Linked DNA regions of Homo sapiens: regions 2 and 3 are each linked to region 1. Evidence: promoter capture Hi-C in 16 types of primary human blood cells and fetal thymus (Javierre and others, 2016). All regions are on one chromosome and are shown on one strand. The core of a region is centred on a gene start or on the middle of the fragment in contact, and the rest is flanking DNA. Distances in the headings are between cores, read along the strand shown. Region 1 holds the start of HAUS8 (HAUS augmin like complex subunit 8). Region 2 overlaps NWD1 (NACHT and WD repeat domain containing 1). Region 3 overlaps NWD1 (NACHT and WD repeat domain containing 1).

Evidence for each region. Contacts are between HindIII fragments. The CHiCAGO score rates a contact against its expected background, and 5 or more counts as called.
Region 2: a contact is called between a fragment that was not itself captured here and the fragment with the promoter of HAUS8 in region 1, in 2 of 17 cell types (M0 macrophages and monocytes). The highest score is 6.1, in M0 macrophages.
Region 3: a fragment that was not itself captured here is called in contact with the fragment with the promoter of HAUS8 in region 1 in 1 of 17 cell types (endothelial precursors); the score reaches 5.9 in endothelial precursors.

The regions. Positions count from the first base shown.
Region 1 is chr19:17,074,162-17,077,812 of GRCh38, forward strand. HAUS8 (HAUS augmin like complex subunit 8) reads right to left here and starts at 1,291. Exons shown (of 11, transcript NM_033417.2): 1 at 1,233-1,291. The coding sequence starts at 1,261. It overlaps MYO9B (myosin IXB), which reads left to right and starts at 1,616. Exons shown (of 40, transcript NM_004145.4): 1 at 1,616-1,713. RefSeq lists an enhancer at 1,034-1,233 and silencers at 1,414-1,763, 1,758-2,052. The HindIII fragment of the contact is 21,850 bases long and covers 1-3,651 here.
Region 2 is chr19:16,791,307-16,794,944 of GRCh38, forward strand. NWD1 (NACHT and WD repeat domain containing 1) reads left to right here. Exons shown (of 19, transcript NM_001007525.5): 14 at 44-316; 15 at 3,157-3,247. Among named protein-coding and RNA genes, the nearest start is that of SIN3B, 36 kb to the right of the region's middle. The HindIII fragment of the contact is 2,909 bases long and covers 279-3,187 here.
Region 3 is chr19:16,732,016-16,735,661 of GRCh38, forward strand. The region is part of intron 3 of NWD1 (NACHT and WD repeat domain containing 1); the gene reads left to right. Among named protein-coding and RNA genes, the nearest start is that of NWD1, 14 kb to the left of the region's middle. The HindIII fragment of the contact is 457 bases long and covers 1,709-2,165 here.

The sequences.
Region 1 (3,651 bases), core at 41-2,540:
GCTGGTGAGAAAAGAAGGGATCCAAGAACAGACACCAGCAACACAGGAGGGGCAAGTGGATGGGCAAGTGGAGGGGCAGGGCCAAGGCCAGGGCACTGTAACTCCTGCTCCCATCACCAAAGGCGGCTCCACTGGTCCCTGCGGCCACCTCCTCTGAAGCAGGCTCCCAGGACCCCAAAGTGAGACCCAGACAATGTTGGGGACACTTCCAGGCCACCGTGGGGAGAGGCAACTTAGCAAATGTTCGCCAGGTGCCAGCAGCTGCGCTCGCCCGTAGGCTCCTCCTAACCCGACAGCTTCCTAACTGTTCACACCTGCTTTTTCGTCGCTGCAAAACAAAGACGCACAGGTTTTACATAGGTCACCCCCGGGGCAGTCTCACAGCCAGAAAGAGACAAGAGCACAGACTCCCTCTGGGGACTGTGCTAGGGCTGTGGCCTCAAACCGAATGGGCTCCTGGGTGAACCTGCTGCGACCTGAGGGGGGTCCCTACAACCTGTGCGAGCCTCAGCTACTGCACCTGTACCTGGGAGGTGCTACTGTCAATCTATCGGTTACGGCAAGGGGCGGTGGAGTGATTCCTCTTGCTGGCCAATTTCACTTCAGTTTGCACCTGGCACAATCAACACTGGCAGAATTAACAAAACTAGACAAATATAGCCTCATGATCATTCATGCCTAGCTCTCGGTCAGTATTCAACTTCTTTCTTGTTCATGGTGTGTTACCCTAGGCAAGTCACTTCCCCTCCCTGGGTCTCCATCATCTCCTCAGTAAACTGGGAGCACAGAATAAAGCGCGTGGGAGGATTAAAGGGGACACTTTGGTCGCCCAACACTTGTTCACTGCATAACGATAATTCCAAGAGCGACATCACAGTAAAGACCCAGGCGCCGATCTAAGCGCGTTTCAGCCTCACGCGACGCCTACGAGGTTGAGCTGCGTCATCGGCCCCATTTCGTAGCGGAGGAAAGCGAGGCACTGGGCGGTCAGGCCGCTTGCCGGAGGTCGCCCAGCGTCCCAGCCGAGGACGCGGAACTCAGGGCCGGTCGGGTGTCAGCGCTCCGGAGCATGCGCAGAGGCAGCACGCCATCGGGGTCTTCAGGGGCCCGCGCAGTTCCTGGCGGGGTCGAACCCGAACTCACCCCGAGGGTCCTAACTCCCCACCTCCGCTGCCCATCCTCTCCAGCCCTATGGCGTCTACAAATCCAGACCTGCGGAAGCCCCAACTCACCCAGCGCCTCGCCCCGAGGAATCCGCCATTTTCCCGCCTTCCACCTCAAGGCCCGACCCGCCGGCTTTTCAAAGCCGGACCCGCCCCCTTGCTTGCGGGTCGGACCATTTGTGGAGACGCAGGAGGGGTGGCTGCGAGGCGTGAGGCAGCGCCGGCTAAGTGTGGAGAGCGCGGCCCCAGACGCGCGCTTCGCCTGTCCTCCCCTCGCACTTGGTCTCGCCCACCATCGGCGGTAGTGGGTAGGGGCGGTGGGTGGGACCTGATCTGTCGGACAGTAGGGGCGGGGCTTTTCGCGATGCCCCGCCCCTAGGAGCGCTGGCGTCACGCCCCCGTCCCCGCCTCTCCGGAACCCGGAAGCGGGAGCGCGCGGGGGAGCGGCGGGCGCGGCGGGGCGGAGCGGCTCGAGCAGCGGCGGGCTGGCAGGCGGTCGTCCGGCCGGGGACCCGGCCCGGGACCGGCGGCGCGCGGCGGCCGAGGCCAGGTGAGTACCAGGCAGCCTCGGGTTGGCGACTCGAGCTCGAAGCCTGCCTTTGGGGGCTGCGCAGAAGAGGGACGGAGCTGAGGGCTGATGGGGGACGCGACGGCAGGGGTCGAGGGGGCGGGAACGAGCCTGGGGGTCTTGGAGAGATTGCTGGGGATGAGGTGGAAGCGAGACGGTGAAGGAGAAAGTGGATGGGGATGGAGCTGGTGAGGGAGTTCGAGGGCGTGGGGGGGGTGAGTCTTGTGGCTTTGAGCAGCTTCTCTGAAGAGGACGTGGCTTAAGTGGTAATTGGGGGGTCGCAGGAAACGGCGTTGTGGGGAGGCACGGAGGCGGGAACGAGAGGCCCAGGCTGGGGGAGTGGGCAAGGCCAGGGGCGGGACAGCCGGGGTGCGGTTGAGGGGAAGGGGTGCGAGACCGATCTGGGGACGTCTGCCCGCGCGATTGAAGGAAGGGTGTCTGAGAAGAGGGCGGCGCCTGGCCCCCAGTGGGCGCTCAGTAAATGCGGGGGGTTCTGAACTAACTGATGCGGCAGCCGGCTATTGGGAAGCGGGGAAATGGGAGCTGGAAGGGAAGTAAACGGAGTAGAAGTCACGGTAAGAACTGAGGGTAGGCTTAGGGAGGGAGGGCCCGGAGAGGAGGGAAGAGAAGGAAGGGGTTAGAGTGGCCCCGTGCAGATAGATGTTGAGATGCAGCCCCTGGAGATTCCGTCCCCCCACCCTCCCCTCTTGATTCGTGTCCCTCCTGACTTCACACTTAACAGCTGGGTGACCTGGGACGAGTCCCAACACCCTCTGTGCCAGTGTCCTCGTCTTGGAAACTTCACCACCCTCCCCTTAAGACAGGACTAGCAGGATTCTGGGATTCCCTGGATCCAAGGAAGGGACCTCAGGGCCGGTTGTGGGGCCGGAACTGTGTTTCAGGAGGGAGTGTGCATGCACCCTCATGTACAGGACTGTCGCCACCTCCGCAGAGCTGCATCCTTGGACTTAAATGGGTAAAACGACATACAGGAAATCTGTCCCCCGGTTGCTCTGAGCTCAGCCCTGGAGAGGCACGACAGCCACGAGCCCTCCTTTCTTTCCTGGGCACCCTGGAGGCCAGGGGTCTTTAAGGGATGGCTTCTCTGCCTCTTTGTCTGAGGTGGGAGCCCGTGGGGACACTTTCCAGCCAGAGAGTCCCAACTCGGTTTGTTTTTTGATGTTGGAGTCTTCAGAATCTTAAGGTGTCCAGGAGCAGCCGGAGGTGACCTGGGCTACAGGAAAGTTATTCACATCTGACAGGCCTGGCTCTTGTGGCCCTGGCAGGGACTTTGTGCAGGGTGCTTTTGATTGGCATTCATTTCTCCCCTTTCCCAACTGTAGGGATCTTTATCTGGGATCTGCCAGAAGGGCTGGGGAACCCCAGCTTATGTTTAGTTTATAGCTCATTCAGGAGATGAACCCGGATAGCTGGAATATAAAGAGGGCCACAGAAAGATAAGCACCCCCTTCACTTCCAGAATATCCTGGCCTTTAGGAAAGGTGGCTTTGGCCTGGCTTGCCCCAGGACATGCAGTGACAGCCCACAGTCATGCCTCCTGCAAACATTGAACTGTAGGCTTGCACTGGCCTACAGAACAGGACCGGGATCTTCTGATCCCGCAGCCCTGCAATCGCCTCTTCCCTGCCGCTAGAGAATGGCCAAGCAGGGTCTTGTGGGGGGAGCACTGTGTTGGAGATCCTGGCTTTGGTCAAGTCTCTGTGCCTGTTTCTGACCTCTCACCTGCAAAATGAATGAATTGACCTCCATCAGCGTTTTTCAACCTTGAAACCCAACTCTTCTCATCACCGTCTTGTCTCCAGTCCATGTCCCCCAGCTCCCGGCCTTGAACTCCTCACAGCACCCCCACTCTCCATTCCTGGCTGCGATGATCCTACTTTTATTCCGTTTTCCATTCGA
Region 2 (3,638 bases), core at 483-2,982, 280 kb before region 1:
GGTCTCCTGCCAAGATGCTGCTTCCTCTTCATTATTCTATTAGATCAATGCTTGGAATCTGGAAACTGCAGAGCCGGTATTCCATATCCTGGGAGATGCCTCTGATCCTTGGATGTGCATGGCCGTGCTGGCCTCCCAGGCCACACTGCTGACAGTGTCCAGGGATGGTGTGGTCAGTCTGTGGAGCTCAGCTACGGGAAAACTTCAGGGGAAGCAACATATGTCCAGCATCAAAGAAGAAACACCTACCTGTGCCGTCTCAGTCCAGAAGCAAGGAAAGCTTGTTACCGGGTTTAGCAATGGCTCCATCTCTTTGGTAAGCACCTTTACTGACTATGATGTGAACATTAACTCAGCTTGAAAGTGCTCAGATGTGCTAGAAGTTGGGAAAAATAATCTTGCCTTGTATCTTTGTTTTGTTTTGGAGATGAAGTTTCACTTTTGTTGCCCAGGCTGGAGTGCAATGGTGTAATCTCAGCTCACTGCAACCTCCGCCTCTCGGGTTCAAGCGATTCTCACTGCCTCAGCCTTCCGAGTAGCTGGGATTACAGGCAAGTGCCACCACGCCTGGCTAATTTTGTGTTTTTAGTAGAGACAGGGTTTCTCCATGTTGGTCAGGCTGGTCTCAAACTCCCAACCTCAGATGATCTGCCCACCTCGGCCTCCCAGAGTACTGGGATTACAGGCATGAGCCACCGTGCCCGGCCACACGCTTGGCTTCTTAATCGTAGGGATTTGCAGTTCAGCACAGTTCAGGAAACATCTGTTGGCGTCTCTTGGGGACTGACCAATGTGGGCAATTGTTGAAGCTCAGTCCTTCAGGGGATCTCTAAGACATGGTGTGGAATGAGGTTGAGAGTTGCGCCACAGAGGGACTAGGAGTTGGGCTCTATCCACCTGCCCTGTTGGTGGTTGGTGGACGGCTGCTTTCATGGACATTAACATATAGACTGGCTGGGCGCTGTGTCTCACTCCTGTAATCCCAGCACTTTGGGAGGCTGAGGGGGGGTGGATCATTTGAGGTCAGGAGTTCGAGACCAGCCTGGCCAACATGGCAAAACCCTGTCTTTACTAAAAGTACAAAAATTGACCAGGCACGGTGGCTCACACCTGTAATGCCAGCACTTTGGGAGGCCGGGGCAGGTGGATCACCTGAGGTTGGGAGTTCGAGACCAGCCTGGCCAACATGAAGAAACCTCATCTCTACTAAAAAAGCATACAAAAAATTAGCCGGGCGTGGTGGTGAGCACCTGTAATCCCAACTACTTGGGAGGCTGAGGCAGGAGAATTGCTTGAACCTAGGAGGTGGAGGATGCAGTGAGCCAAGATTGCACCACTGCACTCCAGCCTGGACATTAAGAGCAAAACTCCATCTCAGAACAAAACAAAAAACAACAGCAACAAAAACAAAAGCCCAAAAATTAGCCGGGTGTGGTGGTGGGTGCCTGTGATCCCTGCTACTAGGGAGGCTGAGGCAGGAGAATCACTTGAACCCGGGAGGTGGAGGTTGCAGTGAGCCGAGATCATGCCATTGCACTCCAGCCTGGGTGACAGATCAAAACTCCATCTCAAAAAAAAAAAAAAAAAAAGAAAGGAATCATGGTGGTGCATACTTGTACTCCCAGCTACTTGAGAGGCTGATGTGGGAGGATCATTTGAGCTTAGGAGGTGGAGGCTGCAGTGAGCCAAGATTGCACCACTGCACTCCAGCCTGAGTGACAGAGCCAGGCCCTGTCTCAAAAAAATTAAAAAATAAAAAAAAAAAGAAAAGAAAAGAAGAAGAAGAATCATCCCAAATCCCAAAGCTCCACATTTCTGAACCTCATGACCTGTGGTCTTCATGAGTTCTCAAGGTACCAAATACAACAACGAAAGATACTCCCAAATCCTTGGGGTTGTTTTTCTTTTTCTCAAGCCTCTTTGCAGATATTTTGTTTTGTTTTTTGAGACAGGGTCTTACTTTATCTCTCAGGCGGGAGTGCAGTGGCACGATCATGGCTCCCTGCAGCCTCGACCTCCCGGGCTCAAGACGTCCTCTCGCCTCAGCCTCCTGAGTAGCTGGGACTACAGGCGCATGCCCCCATGCCTGGCTAATTATTATTATTATTATTTTGTAGAGGTGGGGGTCTCACTATGTTGCCTAGGCTGGTTTCAAACTTATGGGCTCATTCAGCCTTCCAAAGTGCTGGGATTACAGGCGTGACCCACTGTACCTGGCCAGAATTTGTTTTTTACCTTTTTTTTTTAACTGTTTTTTTGTTTTTTGGTTTTTGGTTGTTTTTTTTTTTGAGACTGAGTCTTGCTCTGTCGCCCAGACTGGAATGCAGTGGCGCAATCTCGGCTCACTGAAACCTCCACCTCCCAGCTTCAAGCGATTCTCCTGCCTCCGCCTCCCCAGTAGCTGGGACTACGGGCATGTGCCACCACGCCCGGCTAATTTTTGTATTTTTAGTAGAGATGGGGTTTCACCATGTTGGCCAGGATAGTCTCAAACTCCTGACCTCGAGTGATCCACCCACTTCGGTCTCCCAAAGTGCTGGGATTACAAGCATGAGCCGCCACACCTGGCCAACTTTTATGTTTTTAATTTAAAAAATTTTTTAGAGACAGAGTCTCAGTCTGTCACCCTGGCTGCAATGCAGTGGCACAATCATAGCTCACTGCAGCCTCCAACTCCTAGGGGCACAAGTGATCCTCCTGCTTGAGCCTCCTGAGTAGCTGGGACCACAGGGGTGTACCACCATGCCCAGCTAAAATTTTTATTAAGAGATGGAGTCAGCTAGGCATGGTGGCTCACGCCTGTAATCCCAGCACTTTGGGAGGCCAAGGTGGGCGGATCACCTGAGATCAAGAGTTTGAGACCAGCTTGGCCCACATGGTGAAACCCCATCTCTACTAAAAATACAAAAATTAGCCGGGCATGGTGGCAGGTGCCTGTAATCCCAGCTACTTGGGAGGCTGAGGCAGGGGAATTGCTTGAACCCGGGAGGCGGAGGTTGCAGTGAGCCAAGATCATACCACCGCACTCCTGCCTGGGAGACAGAGTGAGACTCCATCTCAAAAACAAAAAAAATAAAAATTAAAAAATTAAAAAATTCCAGACTTGTAACCCTTAACCCGTGGAAGTGCCTGACAGGCATCCCTGGTTCTGCACAGGTTTCCTCCAAAGGGGACAGATTGCTGGAGAAGCTTCCAGATGCTGTGAGGTTCCTGGTGGTCTCTGAAGATGAGTCCCTCCTCGCCGCAGGTAGCGTTTAGCTCTCATTTGGAGTAGTGAGGAAGCTAATCAGGATCAGGTTGGAGAAGGGGGTGGGGCTTGGGAACAGAGAGAAGTCCTAGGGCCAGAGGTTAGCAACGTTTTCTGCCAAATGGCCTCATAGTAAACATTTTTTGCAGTCCAGACGAGACAACCTCAGTTGCAAAGACTCAACTCTGCAGTTGTGGTACATAAACTAGCATAGACACTATTTTTCTATTATTTTTCTTTTTTTTTTAAATAGGGTCTTGCTGTGTCACCCAGACTGGAGTGGAGTGGCTCAATCATAATTCATTGCAGCCTTGAATTTCTGGGCTCAAACGATCCTCCCACGTCAGCTTCCTGAATAGCTGGGATTACAGGCACACACCACCACACCCAG
Region 3 (3,646 bases), core at 687-3,186, 340 kb before region 1:
AGACTAGCCTAGGCAACATGATGAAACTCTGTCTCTACTAAAAATATAAAAATTAGCCGGGCGTGGTGGCTCATGCCTGTAGTCCCAGCTACTCAGGAGGCTGAGGCAGGAGAATCGCCAGAACTTGGGAAGCAGAGATTGCAGTGAGCTGAGATCAAGCCACTGTACTCCAGCCTGGGTGACAGAGTGAGACTCCGTCTCAAAAAAAAAAAAAAAAAAGGCAGATGGAGGGGTTACAGCCATGTGCACCGTGCTTGGTTAGCATGGCAGGTGGTGTAGAAAAGTGAGTAGGAGTGAATGCTTTTGAACACAGATTCATCGCTGTGTCCCTTGCAGTGTGACCTTGGACATGTCATTTAACTGTCTGTTGTTGTTGCTGCTGTTTTTGTCTTGCCTTCAGAGCTTCCTGGCCCTCTTCGTACTGGGCTTCAGGAGGAGTATAAGAGGGCTTTGCGATATGGGGGATGGGCATGGAGGTTGGACATGCCTTTTTCTAGAACGCTGATGGTGTACCTGTTTGGCACAGTCCCAAAACAGTAGGAGCCCCTAATGCTGTCTCCTTGTACCAATCCCTGGCTAGGGAATTTTTTTTTTTTTTTCAGATGAGGTCCAGTGGATGACAGAGCAAGACTTCATCTCAAAAAAAAAAAAAAAGAAAAAGTGAAAAAGTGCAGTGGTGTGATCTCACAGCTCACTGCAACCTTGAGCTTCTGGGCTCAAGGGATCCTCCTGTCTCAGCCTTCTGAGGAGCTGAAACTACAGACATGCAGCGCTATCCCTGGCTAACCGGGGATGTTTCTGCCTGCACATTTCCCTGTGGAAACTGATGAACATCTTTGGAGTCTCAGCTTAACTTGAGGGCTGCCTCCTTGCTGCTTATGAGAATGATTCATTGCACCAAAGTCCCATTTGGTTAAAAGATGAGGCCGGGCACAGTGGCTAACACCTGTATTCCCAGTGCTTTGGGAGGCCAAGGCAGGAGGATTGCTGGAGGCCAGGAGTTTGATACCGGTCTGGGTAATATAACAAGATCCCGTCTCTATAAAATTAAAAAAATGAGCTGGGTGTGGTGACGCCCACCTGTAGTCCCAGCTACTGGGGAGGCTGAGGTGGGAGGATCACTTGAACCCAGGAGTTTGAGGCTGCAGTGAGCTGTGATGGAGCCACTGCACTCTAGCCTGGGTGCCAGATTGGGATGCTGTCTTTAAAAAAAAAAAAATCTGGGCCGGGCGAAGTGGCTCATGCCTGTAATCCCAGCACTTTGGGAGGCCAAGGCGGGTAGATCACCTGAGGCCAGGAGTTCGAGACCAGCCTGGCCAACATGGTGAAACCCCCTCTCTACTAAAAATACAAAAATTACCCAGATGTGGTGACACGCACCTGTAATCCCAGCTACTCGGGAGGCTGGGGCAGGAGAATTGCTTGAACCTGGGAGGTGGTGGTTGCAGTGAGCCGAGATAACGCCACTGCACTCCAGCCTAGGCAACAGAATGAGATTCTGTCTCAAAAAAAAAAAAAAAATCAAGTGGCTCTTTGGGTAAAAAAGAAAAGAAAAGGAAAAAGATGCATGATCGTTATGGTTTGTATATTTATTACTAAGAAAGAAGCAGTGCTGGAAATTCCACTCTGCCCACCATTGATCATGAGACATAGTTCAATGTCAAAGGCACTATGGAAGCATCAGCACTGAGAGCTGATGAAATGGTCAAGCTTTTCTGTTTAATGCCCATGCCCGTCCTCTGACGCGGATGCTGTCAACATCCTCCACACGCACATCGGGAGACGGCGGTCCCTCCAGAAGCACAAGCTCCTTCCAGAGGCTGGCTCCTGACCCCTTTTCCTTTCCTGCTCCTCTAACTCATTGTTCCTCCCCCTTTCTTCCTCCAGTCACATTGAGTACTGCTGGCCTCTCACCACTTGTCTTAAGAATCTATGTGTCTTTCTCTCGGTGCTAAAGAATTCAGGGAGGCAGGGACTGTTCCGAGTTGTCTTTGTCTCCCTGTCACCCCAGCCTTCCACAGGGTCAGCTTTGCCTACCTGAACTGAGCTGTTCTGCCCAGCCTCCCCATGGCGAGCAGGCACAAATGAACTGCAAGCGTGCGGTTGCCAAGGAGACCTTGGTACGTCCAGTGCTGGCCAAACTAAACACCCTCCTTTGCAAGGAAAGCTTTGTGAACAAGTGTGGACACGTCCTTGCTTTCAAAGCAACAGTTTGAAAATGGCCAAGTTCCTTTTTTAAAAAAGCTTTTCTGTCAGGGCGAGGTGGCTCATGCCTGTAATCCCAGCACTCTGGGAGGCCGAGACAGGCAGATCACGAGGTCAGGAGATTGAGACCATCCTGGCTAACACGGTGAAACCCCATCTCTACTAAAAAATGCAAAAAATTAGCCGGGCATGTAGTCCCAGCTACTCCGGAGGCTGAGGCAGGAGAATGGCGTGAACCCGGGAGGCGGAGCTTGCAGTGAGCCAAGATTGCGCCACTGCACTCCAGCCTGGGTGATAGAGCAAGACTCCATCTCAAAAAAAAAAAAAAGATTTTCTTTCTTTTTTTTTTTCTTTTTTCTTTTTCTGTTTTTCTTGCAACAGGGTGTCGCTCTGTCACCCAGGCTGGAGTGCAGGCATGCAATCACAGCTCACTGCAGCTTTCTGGGCTCAGGTGATCCTCCTGTCTCAGCCTCTCAAGTATCTGAGACTACAGGCACACACCACTACACCTGGCTATTTATTTATTTATTTATTTATTTATTTATTGTAGACACAATGTCTCCCTATATTGTTCAGGCTGGTCTCAAACTCCCGGCCTCAAGAGATCCTCCTCCCTCAGCCTCCCATAGTGCTGGGATTATAGGGGTAAGCCACTTTGCCCTGCCTCTGTTCTAATTTTTTTATTTTAATTAACTTGCTTTTTTATTTCTTAATTTTTATTTTTTTAGAGATGAGGTCTTGCTACATTGCCCAACCTGGTCTTGAACTCCTGGGTTCAAGCAATCCTCATGCTTCAGCCTCCAGAGTAGCTGGGATTATAGGCACATGCCACCGTGCCCGACTAAATGTTTATAAATAAACTTCTGAATTTGGAATTTAGGCTTACAGGAAACGCATGGACAGTACGGAGTTCCCATACACCCCACACTCTGTGTCTCCTAACGTTTTACCTAACCACAGCACAACCAACTATGTTGTTACAACTATGAAATGAACTTTGAGGACAGGTGCAGTAGCTCGTGCCTGTAATCCTAACATTTTGGGAGGCTGAGGCAGACAGTTCACTTGAGATCAGGAGTTTGAGACCAGCCTGGCCAACATAGCAAAACTTTATCTCTAATAAAGATACAAAAAAATTAGCCAGGCGTGGTGGTGCACGCCTGTAATCCCAGCTACTCGGGAGGCTGAGGCAGGAGAATTGCTTGAACTCGGGAGGCGGAGGTTGTGGTGAGCTGAGAGTGCACCACTAAGCTCCAGCCTGGGTGACAGAGCAAGACTCTGTCCCCCTGACCAAAAAAAAAAAGAAAGAAAGAAAGAAAGAAATCAGTCTGGGGGCAGTGGCTCATGCCTGTAATCCCAGCATTTTGGGAAGCCGAGGTGGGTGGATCACCTGAGGTCAAGAGTTCGAGACCAGCCTGGCCAATATGGTGAAACCTTATCT